2 separate regions of the Homo sapiens genome follow, and region 2 is linked to region 1. Evidence: promoter capture Hi-C in 16 types of primary human blood cells and fetal thymus (Javierre and others, 2016). All regions are on one chromosome and are shown on one strand. The core of a region is centred on a gene start or on the middle of the fragment in contact, and the rest is flanking DNA. Distances in the headings are between cores, read along the strand shown.

Evidence for each region. The method cuts DNA at HindIII sites, captures the fragments that hold promoters and counts their contacts. A CHiCAGO score of 5 or more calls a contact.
Region 2: a contact is called between a fragment that was not itself captured here and the fragment with the promoter of FURIN in region 1, in 1 of 17 cell types (monocytes). The highest score is 5.5, in monocytes.

What each region holds. Positions count from the first base shown.
Region 1 is chr15:90,865,761-90,871,842 of GRCh38, forward strand. FURIN (furin, paired basic amino acid cleaving enzyme) reads left to right here and starts at 2,828. Exons shown (of 16, transcript NM_002569.4): 1 at 2,828-2,951. RefSeq lists enhancers at 3,360-4,559, 3,802-3,851, 3,919-4,213, 3,952-4,061, 3,999-4,293 and silencers at 5,570-5,779, 5,820-6,082. The HindIII fragment of the contact is 27,514 bases long and covers 1-6,082 here.
Region 2 is chr15:90,677,427-90,683,888 of GRCh38, forward strand. All of the region lies in intron 2 of CRTC3-AS1 (CRTC3 antisense RNA 1), which reads right to left. Among named protein-coding and RNA genes, the nearest start is that of LINC01585, 20 kb to the left of the region's middle. RefSeq lists enhancers at 655-714, 5,631-6,131. The HindIII fragment of the contact is 4,674 bases long and covers 879-5,552 here.

The sequences.
Region 1 (6,082 bases), core at 1,578-4,077:
AGAAGTGTCTGCTCCCCAAGTGCATAAGCTCATGCCCCCAGGCCCATGTCCTTGCCTCTCCCTCTGCCTGGGACACTCTTCCTCCAGATCTTTACACTTTTGCCTCTTTTTTCAGCCTCAGCTCAAACATCACCTCCTCCCAGAGGTCTTCCCTGACCACCCCAGGGATAGCAGCCCTCCCGCTTCCCCAGGCACTCCCACATTACCTTCTTTATCATTTTCTTCCAGAGCTCTTAGGATGATCTGAACTTCTCTCATAAACTGGCTTATTCACCTGTGAACTGCCTGCTTCCCTCGCTATAACTGAAGCACTGGAAGAGGTCCTGCACCCAGCAGGCACTCAATGAGTATCTGAGGAATGAGTGAATGAAATGCCCAGTGCACAATCAACCTCCACAAAAGCAGTTTTTCTTTTCACATATAACTCATCGCTATCACAGCCCCTCTCCTTGCTCACCCGCCTCGCTGAGGGGCTCCTGAGAACCTCCGTAGAGGTCTCCATCAGCCAAAAAGCATCTGCACCGTCAGAGAGGGCCCCTCACTGCCGCTCGCAGTGCTCCCTGCTGCCACGTGCAGCCCCTTGAGCATGAGCCTGTTGACACAGGTTGGCACACGGTGTCTGGCTTCTGTAAATGCTCTCTGCTCCCAGGTGTGCCGTGCCCCATTGAAGGACAGCACTCACACTCCTCCAGGTATTAACTGACTTTTTCCCCAGCAATGTTTGTTTTAGGGATTAAAGTTTGTGGAGGAGCCTATAATTTCCAGACTCATCTGTTCCTTTCCTGGCAGCCAGCACATTTGTCATTCTATTTTTCCCAAGTCCCTGATAATACCGTTCCAGACATGTTGATTTGATGGCATCAGTCAACGGAAAGACTCTCTGGGGCCTGCCGTAGGCCAGAGGACAGGCTCTCCGGGCCACACTCAGGGGCGACTGAGCCAACTCTTCACGCCATTCCTTTCCTTCCCTGCCTAGGACGACCTTACAGCCCATGATCGCTTTTCTTCTTCTTCTTCTGTTTGTTTTTTCTTCCTGTTTTCTTTTTAAGTACTACAGTGACCCCTTATTTATTCAGCAAAGAAATGGACTACTCCACAGTAGTGAATTTTCAAAATAATGCCCTTCAAGCACTAAAACTTTAAACAACACATCTTCAAAACAGCTTTGCTGAGGTATAACTGACACACTATAAACGGCATGGATTTAAAGTGTACAACTTGATATGTTTTGATATATGGACACACCCATGAAACCATCACCACAATCAAGATAATGAACATGTCCATCATTCCCAAAAGTTTCCTCCCGCCCCTCCCTGCCCCCTTCCCCAAGCAAGCACTGATCTGTTTTCCAAATACGTCTTTAATGCTACAAGGGCTCACACACCTCCCCACCTTAGAAAATGGAGTATGATCAACATGATTGATCCTTTCCTTGATTCAGCATTATCACCAACACGATGGAAAGTGATCTCAGATGTCATGAGGATGCATGATTGTTTGCCCTGATCACTAAACGGCCCATTGTTGTGCTGGCATACTGGGCAGTTTCAAGTTTGGGAGTTTTCTCCCTCACTGCTAGCTGTCTCAGAGCTTAGTTCCCAGCAGACAACTCTTGCTGCCTCGAACCCTGGCACACTAACCACCATCCTGTGACGTTCCCACTCCTCATTCTGCGACAGTGGTTCTTTGCTGGGAGAGATTTTTGTCTCCCAAGGGACATTTGGCAATACCTGGAGATCTTTTTGGTTGTCATCATGGGAGCGGGAATGCTACTAGCAGCTAATGTTTAGTGACTAGGGATGCGACTGAACATCCTGCAATGTAGAGTGCAGTGTCCCCTACAGAGAATTATCCGACCCAAGATGTTGATAATGCCAAGGTTGAGAAACCCTGTTCAGGATGACAAACTGATTGAAAACTCAACAAGGGGACCGGGCGTGGTGGCTCACGCCTAATAATCCCAGCACTTAGGGAGGCCGAGGTGGGTGTATCACTTAAGGTCAGGAGTGCGAGACCAGCCTGGCCAACATGGCAAAACCCCATCTCTACTAAAAATACAAAAAAAAAAAAAAAAAATACGAGTGGCGTAAGCCTGTAATCCCAGCTACTTGGGAGGCTGAAGCATGAGAATCGCCTGAACCCAGAAGGCAGAGGTTGCAGTGAGCTGTGATCAGGCCATTGCATTCCAGCCTGGGCAACAGAGCGAGACTCTTGTCTAGAAAAAAAAAAAACAAACCCATAAAACAAACAAACAAAAAAAACTATGAGGATTGAGTGATTCACATTTCTGAATCGAGAGAGAGAAGGATGGGCAGCAGGCTTGTTGAAGCTGGAAGGCCAGGGAGGTCGCAGACTGAGGAAGACCCTGGTGTGTCCCAGGTACCTCCATGCAACCCTACTAGAGAGGTGGTCTCTGGCTTCCTATGGACAAGCTCTAAGGGACCCAGCTATGGGGCACCAGAGCCCAGCGTTCAGCAGCTGCTCAATGAATGTCTGCCAGGCGAGACTGCACCCAAAGCATTTATTAGGTACATAATTGTGGCAGCACTGGCTGGCCATGGAAGGCAAGGCAGAACACAAGGAGCTGGAGCTGGCGGAAGGAAGTCATTAAGTCAGCCAGTGGCTGGGATGCAGCAAAGCCAGGCAGAAGGTAAGTGCAGACCCACCCCAATAAATGAGGAAAATGAGAAGGGCTGGCTGGCCATGTTAGGATCCAGTTCCAGTGCGACCAGATATGTCACCACCACATCACTTTTAGCTCCTCCCCCCACCCACAGACACCCTGTTTGCCTGTCATATAAAGAAGGTTTTCCCAAAGTGGTTTAGCCAGAACTGGAAGGGCCCCGCCCTGTGAAGGGATAGGAGCCTGACTGTTGCAGCTGCAGTGAGTGGCGGGGAAGCAGCAGCGGCCAGGATGAATCCCAGGTGCTCTGGAGCTGGATGGTGAAGTATGGACATGCTTTATTCGATTTTGCATTGACTTAAAGGTTTAATTATTTTAGGAGTTCTTGTAGACATTCCTGAAAAATGCAGGTAGGCAAAAAGAAGAAAACAAAGATCGCAAATGTGACCCTTTCATTCGGAGAGAACACCAATGGAATTTTGTTGTGCACCCTTCTATGCACGTCTGAATGTTGTGTAGACATTCTGCTTACAACTAGGTGTGGGTGCTGCTGCCGAAGGCTTTATTTGCTGTGCCTGAGGTGGACCAGAGATTTCAGAGAAGACTCCCAGAGCACCCCAAGGAGACAACAGGAGTGCTTGGAGTCAGGATGACTGGGTGGATTTAGGACTATGTGATTCTCAGGAGCCTCTCTGGATTAGCCCCAAATCAAGGATAAAGAGAGGCCTAGCTGGACTCTTCCTCCCAGAGCCCTGCTGGGAAAATGGAGCCCCTTTACAGCCCCCACTTACCCATCAGGCCCTGCTCCTCTCACTCATCTCCAGACTTCTGTCACATGCCCAAGTCCTGCTAACTGCTGTGTAAAACTGGTAAGGTGGGATCCAGAGGACCTTGGGCCCCTAGGGCCCCAGGTCAGGAGACCTGGGCTCCAGGGCCAGTTGAGAGTGATAAAGAGAACAATACCTGCCCACAGGACTTGTTGCAATGAGATAAAGGCAGAAGTCACCAGTTGTGGTCAAATGGGATTTTTTTCCAGAGAAGTCTCACAGAGAGTGGCTTTCAAATTCTTTTTAGCAGCAGAATTGTTGTAAAATACAATCTCATGTGAAACCCTAAAATGTGAGACACTCTGGGTGAAGCAGAGAGAGGTGCTCAACTGCCCAATCCTGTCCTCATTCCTCCCTCTCAGGGAGGCACCTCTGAGAACCCACTTTAAAGAATTTTGCCTTATGCAGATTGAAGAGGCAAGCTGGCTGGAAGAAACTGGGAAGCTCCACTTCCCACCGCCTCTGCCTGGGTGGCAGTCATCTGAGCCTAGGCTAGCCCCTCCCCCTCCAAAGACCCACTGCGGGCTCCCCTGGGGCCAGTCTCCAGGATGGGTGGGGCACCTGAAGCAGCAAGTATTGCTATTTTTCTGGGCTGACCTTTCTTCTAGGCCTGAGGACAAGTGGGTAGGTGGGGCCAGCCCTGTCCCTGTTTCCCCTCAATGGAGTTCTCTTGCTCACAGCCTAAGGAAGAAGCGTGAGTCACTTCCTGCCTCAGTCTGACTGCTGGAGTATTGTTCTCCCAACTGTGGCTGGCGCTACCCAGTGTGGCCCCTACAAGTCTTAGTTCCTTGGCGGAGGGGAAGTCCCCACTTTGGGACAAGGCCAACTGGACTTATCTTCCCGCTCAACTTTGAGGACCCAGCATTGTTCCTCCAGTTTCCAGTTCTTGCAGTGTTTGTAAAGGTGCCCGAATCGTACCTGATCCCATTCACTAAATATTATCTCCATTTTATAGAGGGGTAAATTGAGGAAGTCCCTGAGAAATTAACTTGTCTAAGGTGTCCCAGCAAAAAATAGTGCCCCAGGGATTTGAACCGGTTTGCTGATTGATTTTTCACCAGTTGCCTTAAGAATTATCATGATTTAACCTCTCTGGGCCTCAGTTTCCTCCTCTATAAAATGCAGACAGTGATACATCAAAGGTACTTAAAGGAAAATGTACTGTACCCACCTCATGGGGCATGTGGTGAGGATAAAACGGGTTGACACAGGAAAAGAGCTCTCAATGGTGCCTGGCTCATAGAAAACACTCAGTGGATTTTTTTTTTCCCATTACCCGGGAACCTGTGTTAAGGAGGCCACAGGCTGATCCTGTGCAGCCAGGTTATCTCACAGGGAGCGAGAAGAGATGGGCACAGGCTACTCTGCGACCTTGGAATAACCCAGCCTGGGAAGCTCCTGGCCACATTTTCCTTCTTTTCTTTCTCAGCTCAAGCAGCGTCGGCCTCAGCCAAGTAGCACAAACGTTTTCTAGGGCCCAGGGAGGGAGAGGCTCCGGCTGGTATATTGCAAGTAGCTTGGATTCAGGCTCTGCCAAACACCCCAGTCTCTTGCAGGATCTGAGGTCTGCTGGTTGTGGGACTTTGCGCAAATTATTTAAACGTTGTGCGCCTCAGTTTCCTTATCTGTAAAATGGGATTAATAATCTCAGCCTGAAAGGATTATGTGGATTAAATCATGTACATAAGAAGGAGATAATGTAAAGTGACTGGCCTGGTGCCTGGCAAGCGGTTGGTGTCTAAAAAGAAAAAAAAGCTAAAAATATTAAAAGGAGGTGGGCTACTTCTGCTCATATATCCACCTGTCTATACAAATGCAGACGAAGTCGTGACTCCTCTAACAGTAGGCCAAGAGGAGGCTGGTCCTGCCGCCGTGCAGTCCTCCCTCGACCTGGGAGTGGAGGACCCCAGGTCCGCCGTCCCTGGGCACTTAACCCGGTCAGGCTCAAATTCGTCGCCCAGGAGTGGGGAAGCGGGGGACGGAGAGGGCCAGTCCCCCAAGAGTCCGGCTGAGGCAGGGCTCGGAGTGCCTCCCCCAAGCCTTTCCCTTTGGTTCCGAGTTCGGGTCTCCGCGGCCGTCTTCCCGGGGAGCTCGCGGGGCGAAGAGCCGAGCCCGGGGGCGGGGGCACGGCAGCGGGGCCTGAGGGACGCGCCGGGCGGCCGCGAGGACTTTGGGATCGCCTGCCCCACTTCCTACCTGCCCCTACCAGGAGCCGGAGGCAGCGGGCGCCCCAGAAGGCCCCGCAGGGCCGCCGCGCGGGGCCGGACGCGCTGGGGCCCACGGCGCTGGGAACGCGGGCCCGCAGTCGGGCCCGGGCGGCATGGGCGGCCGAGGGGCGCCCGAGCCGCCGCGGCGGTCGCCTGGAAAAGTTTCCCCGCCAGGGCTCCCCAGGGTAAGTAGCGAGGGCGCGGGGCCCGGGGCCCGGGGAAGGCAAGCGCGTCTGGGAGCCGGGCCCGAGGGGAGCCGGCCGGGCCGGGCCGTGGAGCTCTGCCCCAGGAGCGGGCTCCGCGGCCCGGGTGCTCGGGCCGGGGAGGGTCGGGGCACTGGCGCCGGTGCAGCCCTGACCCGGGTCCCCCGGGGCCCGGCTGCCCGCCGGCTTTCCGGAACTGGCCCCGGGGCCGGCCCCGAG
Region 2 (6,462 bases), core at 1,966-4,465, 190 kb before region 1:
GAGTAGCTGGGATTACAGGCATGCGCCACCACGCCTGGCTAATTTTGTATTTTTAGTAGAGACGGGGTTTCTCCATGTTTGCCAGGCTGGTCTCAAACTCCTGACCTCAGGTGATCCGCCTGCCTCGGCCTCCCAAAGTGCTGGGATTACAGGCCTGAGCCACCGCGCCCGGCCCCTACATTTATTTTTTTACACCTTTTAGGTCAGAGCAGAAGAACTTGAACATTTTCTAGTTTCTTGAGGTAGAAGCTGAGGTCATTGATTTGAGTTCTTTCTCCTTTTCTAATATGACCATTTAGTGCTATGAGACCACCAGGCCTTGGTGACATTCCTGACCACTGGATAAAGCCTCAGCTGAGGCCAACCTGAATCCAAACCACTAGTTTTCAACGCTCACTACACATTAGAACTACCTGGCAAGCTTCTAAAACTAGCCATGCTTTGGCCCCACCCCAGGCCAATTAAATGAAAATCCCTGGGAATGAACCTCATTACTGGGAGTTGTCAAAGCTCACCAGGTAGTTCTGTTGAGCAGCCAGGACTGGGAATCACCACTCTAGGCCACTGTTTTTCGAACTGTCTGTAATAACAGCAGTTTTCCGTTTCATTTTCAGTTTTATTGTTATTTTATTGACTGATACTTTTGTAACACACAATAAAGATGAATCATATAGCTTCATCCACTGGAGGTATCCTTTATAAAAAGTGGTTCTTCTATGCCTCTTAAACCCAGGTGTTCTCGTTATCCTGTAGCATCATCAACAAGGTAGGAAAGAAGGGTCATGCACGTGGATCTTGCAGCCACATAGATATCTTATCGTGGACCAATAACAGTTTGTGGACCACTGTAGTCCAAGGACTGCACTGCAGCACTGTCAAGCTTTCTTGACTATGAGTCAATAACTTCTTTTTATTGTTTAAAGTAATTTTCAGTTACAAGAGGCAGATTCCAATTGAAGCACTCTATCACAGCCATATCCATCTAGGCTGCAGTCATCGGATGACATGTTGCTCTCTCTTTCTATCTCTCTCTTTCCCACAGGAGAGATGCAGCCATCCCAGAGTATGTGCGTAGTCATGGTTTATTTGATGGTGACTGTGTGATCACTGTGCACTCTCATTCTGGCTCCCTTTCCAGAGCAGCATTAACACAGGTGATACAAACTTCCCTTTCCGCCACTGTTGACACTAAAGGAAATGAGAACATCTGGGTTTAAGAGGTAATGGAAGCACCACTTTTTTTTTTTCATAAAGGAAACCTCTAGAAGTCACATGATTTGGCGGTACCTTTTCTTTTTTCTTTTCTTTTTTTTTGAGACGGAGTTTTGGTCTTGTTGCCCAGGCTGGAGTGCGGTGGCACAATCTCGGCTCACTGCAACCTCCACCTCCCAGGTTCAAGCGATTCTCCTGCCTCAGCCTCCTGAGTAGCTGGGATTACAGGCATCCACCACCACACCTGGCTAATTTTTTGTATTTTTTAGTAGAGATGGGGTTTCACCATGTTGGCCAGGCTGGTCTCAAACTCCTGACCTCAGGTGATCCACCCGACTCGGCCTCCCAAAGTGCTGGGATTACAGGTGTGAGCCACCATGCCCGGCCAAGGAACATTTTCATCTTTTGATCACAAGCTCCTCTTTCAACTTACAAATACGAATTTTAACATACTTGCATTGTTCTTTTTGTTGCTCAAATCATCCTGTATTTGGTCAGAGAGAGCCTTTTCACATGAACCCCTGTGTCCTTTTAATCAGACTCCATAGTGATGATACCTTCCTTGTTCAGCTGCCCCAACCTTGGACTGGCCATTTGGCAGGAGCCCTAGTTTCTTTTAGCAGAGAATGACATACAGAGACCATGATCTAGGCAAGATATATACTTTTTTTTTTTTTTTTTTTTTTTGAGACAGGATCTCACTGTCTCCTTGGCTGGAGTGCATGGCAGTCACGACTTACAACAGCCTTGAACTCCTGGGCTCAAGGGATCCACTAGCTTCAGTCACCTGAGCAGCTGGGACCACAGGCACATACCACCATACCTGACACTCTCTCTCTGTCTCTCTCTATATATATTTGTTGTTGTTTGTTTGTTTGTTTTCGTAAAGACAGGGTCTTTTGTTTTGAGACAGATCTCACTCTGTTGCCCAGGCTGGAGTGCAGTGGCACGATCTCGGCTCATTGCAACCTCCGCCTCTCAGGTTCAAGTGATTCTCCTGCCTCAGCCTCCTGAGTAGCTGGGACTACAGGCACGTGCCACCACGCCCAGCTAATTTTTGTATTTTTAGTAGAGACAGGGTTTCACCATACTGGCCAGGCTGGTCTTGAACTCCTGACCTTGTGATCCACCTGCCTCCGTCTCCCAAAGTGCTGGGATTACAGGCGTGAGCCACCGTACCCGGCCAAGACAGGGTCTTTTTTTATTTTTCATTTTCTCAGCCTGAATATGTTTGTAGACAAGGTCTTGCTATGTTGCCCAGGTTCTACTCTTTTTAAACACAAAAATTACATAATTTTTCAGACAATCTGTTTTGCCATATTGAGAGGCCTTTGCATTAAGTCTGCTAATGCCCTGACAACCACCACATCACTTGGGATTTGGAGTCCCTTTGGGTTAGAGCAGGGTTTCTCAACTTCGGCACTATTGACATGTGGGCTGGATCATTTTGTTCTTTGGAGGCTGTTCTGACACTGCAGGTAGATGCCAGTAGCACCTCCCTAGTTGTGGCAACCAAAATGCCTCCAGACATTGCCCAATACCCCTGGGGGTGCCAAAATCATCCCCCGTTAAGAATCACTGGATGTCCTCTGGGATTCTACGGAAAACTTCCTGGAACAAACCAGAGAAAATCTGACTCCTGATGTCACATCCATGCCAGCTTCCTGCCTCTGTTTCCCCATTTGTCCAGTTGGGATCATGACTACAAGATAAAACAGCATATGGTGGGAAGCAATGGGACCTGCAAGGAGTCATCGTGGTACTCATGAGGAGCAGACATAAGGTCACAAGCAGCACTGCCCTGGAACTGCATGGCACTGTGCTGGCTTTGCCAAGGTGGTAGGGCATCCCACTGAACTGACTCAAGTCCCCAGGATTGCTCCAACTCTTGTATTCCCTCCAGGCCTCTTTTTAATGTTAGCGTTGTTTAAGATCTTTCATTTTACTGTCAAAAAGAGAAAGTCTCATTTAATTCATACCAGATGCTGAGTGAGTCGTCATGAATCAATACAACATTATCCAAAAACCACCAAAATGAATCATAAGGATAAACAGGATTTTTTTCTCCCTGCAAAACAGTGACTAAAATAGTGCCTTGCCCTTTTAGAAAAAAAAAAAAAAAAATCTGAGGTTAGGAGGAGGCCTAGGGCCCTGCTCATGTAATCCACGTGTCCGTGAGCATGGAATGGTTCAACTGCAGGTCCTAGGGAGACAGTGTATGAGGCCTGCAGCTAAGCCAGGCAGACACGGGCTGGAGAAGGTGTCCCAGAGTTAGGATTCAGGAATGGGGGTCCAGCAGCCCCCTGAAACTTATGCAATCCTCTGTTTCCATCCCAGTCTCAAAGCTGTCTGTGACTCAGAGAAGTTTTGTCACCCTCATTATGGATGAAGAGGCTCTTGGGAACTGTGGAGGGTCTTCTGGGAGGTGAGCATCCCAGAATTCTTCTGCTGCTGATAAAGCTAAGGCAGCCCATCAGCCTCATGAGCACTTATTTTCTCAGTCCTTCCTCTACTGTGATCCTGAGAATGCACTCTGAGTATGTAGGGGAGTCAGAAATGGTGTTTGTCCTCTCTGGGGCAGCAGGGAGGCTGGAGAGGGAAGGCTCTGGGCCCACCTAGGCACTCAGACTCTGACCCTTGAATGGAGGAAGCAAAAGCCAAGAAGAGGTTGGGGCTGACACATCTTTACAGTGTGGCCAGATGAGACTCTCAGTTGGTTCCAGCTTCTAGGTCCCCACGGCCTCCCTGTTTTCTGTCTTTTCCAGACCAGGCTCTTCAATTTCCCCTTCCATGTTGTGAGGGACTCCATAGCCTTCTTGTGAATTTCCCTTGGGGTCGGGGGTCAGTGTCTGTTTCTTGCCACCGCAGCACCAGGCTGGTTGTTTCTGTAAGAGGCTCTGAGAGCTGCGCCTCCCACATCCCTCACCTCCCAGACTTGTGCAGGAGTAGTCAGGAACATGCGGAGCTGGAACCACACTCGATGGCACCCACGAGGTCAAGTCAGAAGGGCTCCCTTCTGGTAAGGCAGAATCAGAGCCAAGGAGGCTGAGCGTTCCCTGCAATCACTGCCATCACTGATGAAGGAACTGACTCATCTGATGTGGGCCATTGAGGAATGTGGAGGTTGGACGAGTGACCACTAGGACCTTCAGCAATAGAGAAAATGGAACTGGCTGGGCACGGCGGCTCATACTTGTAATCCCAGAACTTTGGGAGGCTGAGGTGGGAGGATCACCTGAGGTCAGGAGTTCAAGACCAGCCTGGCCAACATGGTGAAACCTTGTCTCTACTAAAAATACAAAAATTGGCTGAGTGTGATGGCACGTGCCTGTAATCCCAGCTACTCCAGAGGCTGAACCAGGAGAATTGCTTGAACCTGGGAGACAGAGGTTGCAGTGAGCTGAGATTGCACCACTGCACTCCAGCCTGGGCAACAGAACAAGACTCCATCTCAAAAAAAAAAAAAGAAGGAACTGTTCCCAGAGATCCTCAGTGCCACTCCAGGTTTCAGCGAAGCTCTGCTGAGGGGCCGGGGTCATGGACCCCAGTGTACACAGGCTCTACTAGGGGATCCTATCGAAGCCCCCTCCCCCGAATGGCCTCCAGGAATCTGTCCTGGCTCCACCTCTGGAACCTTCATTTTCTTACATCTTGCCTGTAGCCATCACCACACTTGGCAACCTACTGTGTGTCACCTAGCTCCCCTACTTATGGGATGACTACTTCAATTCTTCACTCTCTCAAACTTCCAAGGCCCTCCTATCCCCCCCTCACCTCTGGCCTCTGCCCACTAGAGGACCCCCACTAGTAATACCCCTTAGTTGTGACAATCAAAAATGTCTCCAGACGTTGCCAAACATCCCCTCAGGTGGAAAATCACCCTCAGTGAGAACCACTGATCTAGACCAACAGCCAGCCGCTCTCTCTCATGCTTGTGACCCACATCTGGAATGCACACATTTGACTGACCTTCATCTGTCTCTTGATGCAGCCCTTTTTCAAAGCCCAGCATGGCTGGGCATGGTGGCGCACGCCTGTAATCCCAGCACTTTTGGAGGCCAAGCCGGGAGGGTTGTTTGAGCTCAGAAGTTTGAGACCAGCCTAGGCAACATGGTGAAACCCCATCTCCACAAAAAATACAAAAATTAGCCGGGTGTGGTGGTATGCACAGGTGGTCCCAGCTACTCAGGAGGCTGAGATAGGAGGATTGCTTGAGCCTGGGAGTTCAAGAACAGCCTCGGCAATATGGCAAGACCTCATCTCTTAAAAAATAAAAAAAAAAAAAATTAAAAAAACTTGATCACATTTTTCTGGAGGGGAATTTAACAATATTTATCATAAGCTTTAAGTTAATAGTGTAATATAAAATAAGCTGAGCATGGTGGCAGGCACCTGTAATCCCAGCTACTCAGGAGTCTGAGGCAGGAGAACTGCTTGAACCCAGGAGGTGGAGGCTGCAGTGAGCTGTGATTACGCCACTGCACTCCAGCCTGGGCAATAGGGCAAGACTCCGTCTCAAAAAAGAAAAAAAAGAAAAGTTAATAGTGTAATATTATGAACTACTGATACATGAAACATAGGTGAATCCCAAAAACATAATGCTGAGGGAAGAGTACATACACCAGGCGGGTGGCTCACGCCTGTTATCCCAGCACTTTGGGAGGCCAAGGTGGGAGGATCGCTTGAGCCCAGGAGTTCTAGACCGGCCTGGGCAACGCAGCAAGATGACCCATCTCAATTTTTTTTAATTAAAAATAATAATAACTAAAAAAACCCCAAAGCCCAGTGGACTGACAGGCAGACAACATACATACACACGCCCCTGTAGATTTCGAGGTGTGATTCGGACACCTCTGTGTCTCCCTGGTTCCAGTGTCCCCCTCAGTTGATCTGAGGAAAGCAGGACGCACTCACCCCTCCCCCATGGGTGTGGCTGGGGGCGGGCTCCACAGTACAAGCCTCTGCTAAAGAAATCTGCTTCCACCGGGCAGGTGGCTCACACCTGTAACGCCAGCACTCTGGGAGGCTGAGGCGGCTGGATCACCTGAGGTCAGGAGTTTGAGACCAGCCTGACCAACACGGTGAAACCCTGTCTCTACTAAAAATACAAAATTAGCCAGGCGTGGTGGCACATGCCTGTAATCCCAGCTACTCAGGAGGCTGAGGCAGAAGAATCGCTTGAATCCAAGAGGCAGATGTTGCAGTGAGCTGAGATCATGCCACTGCACTCCAGCCTGGGTGACAAGAGCA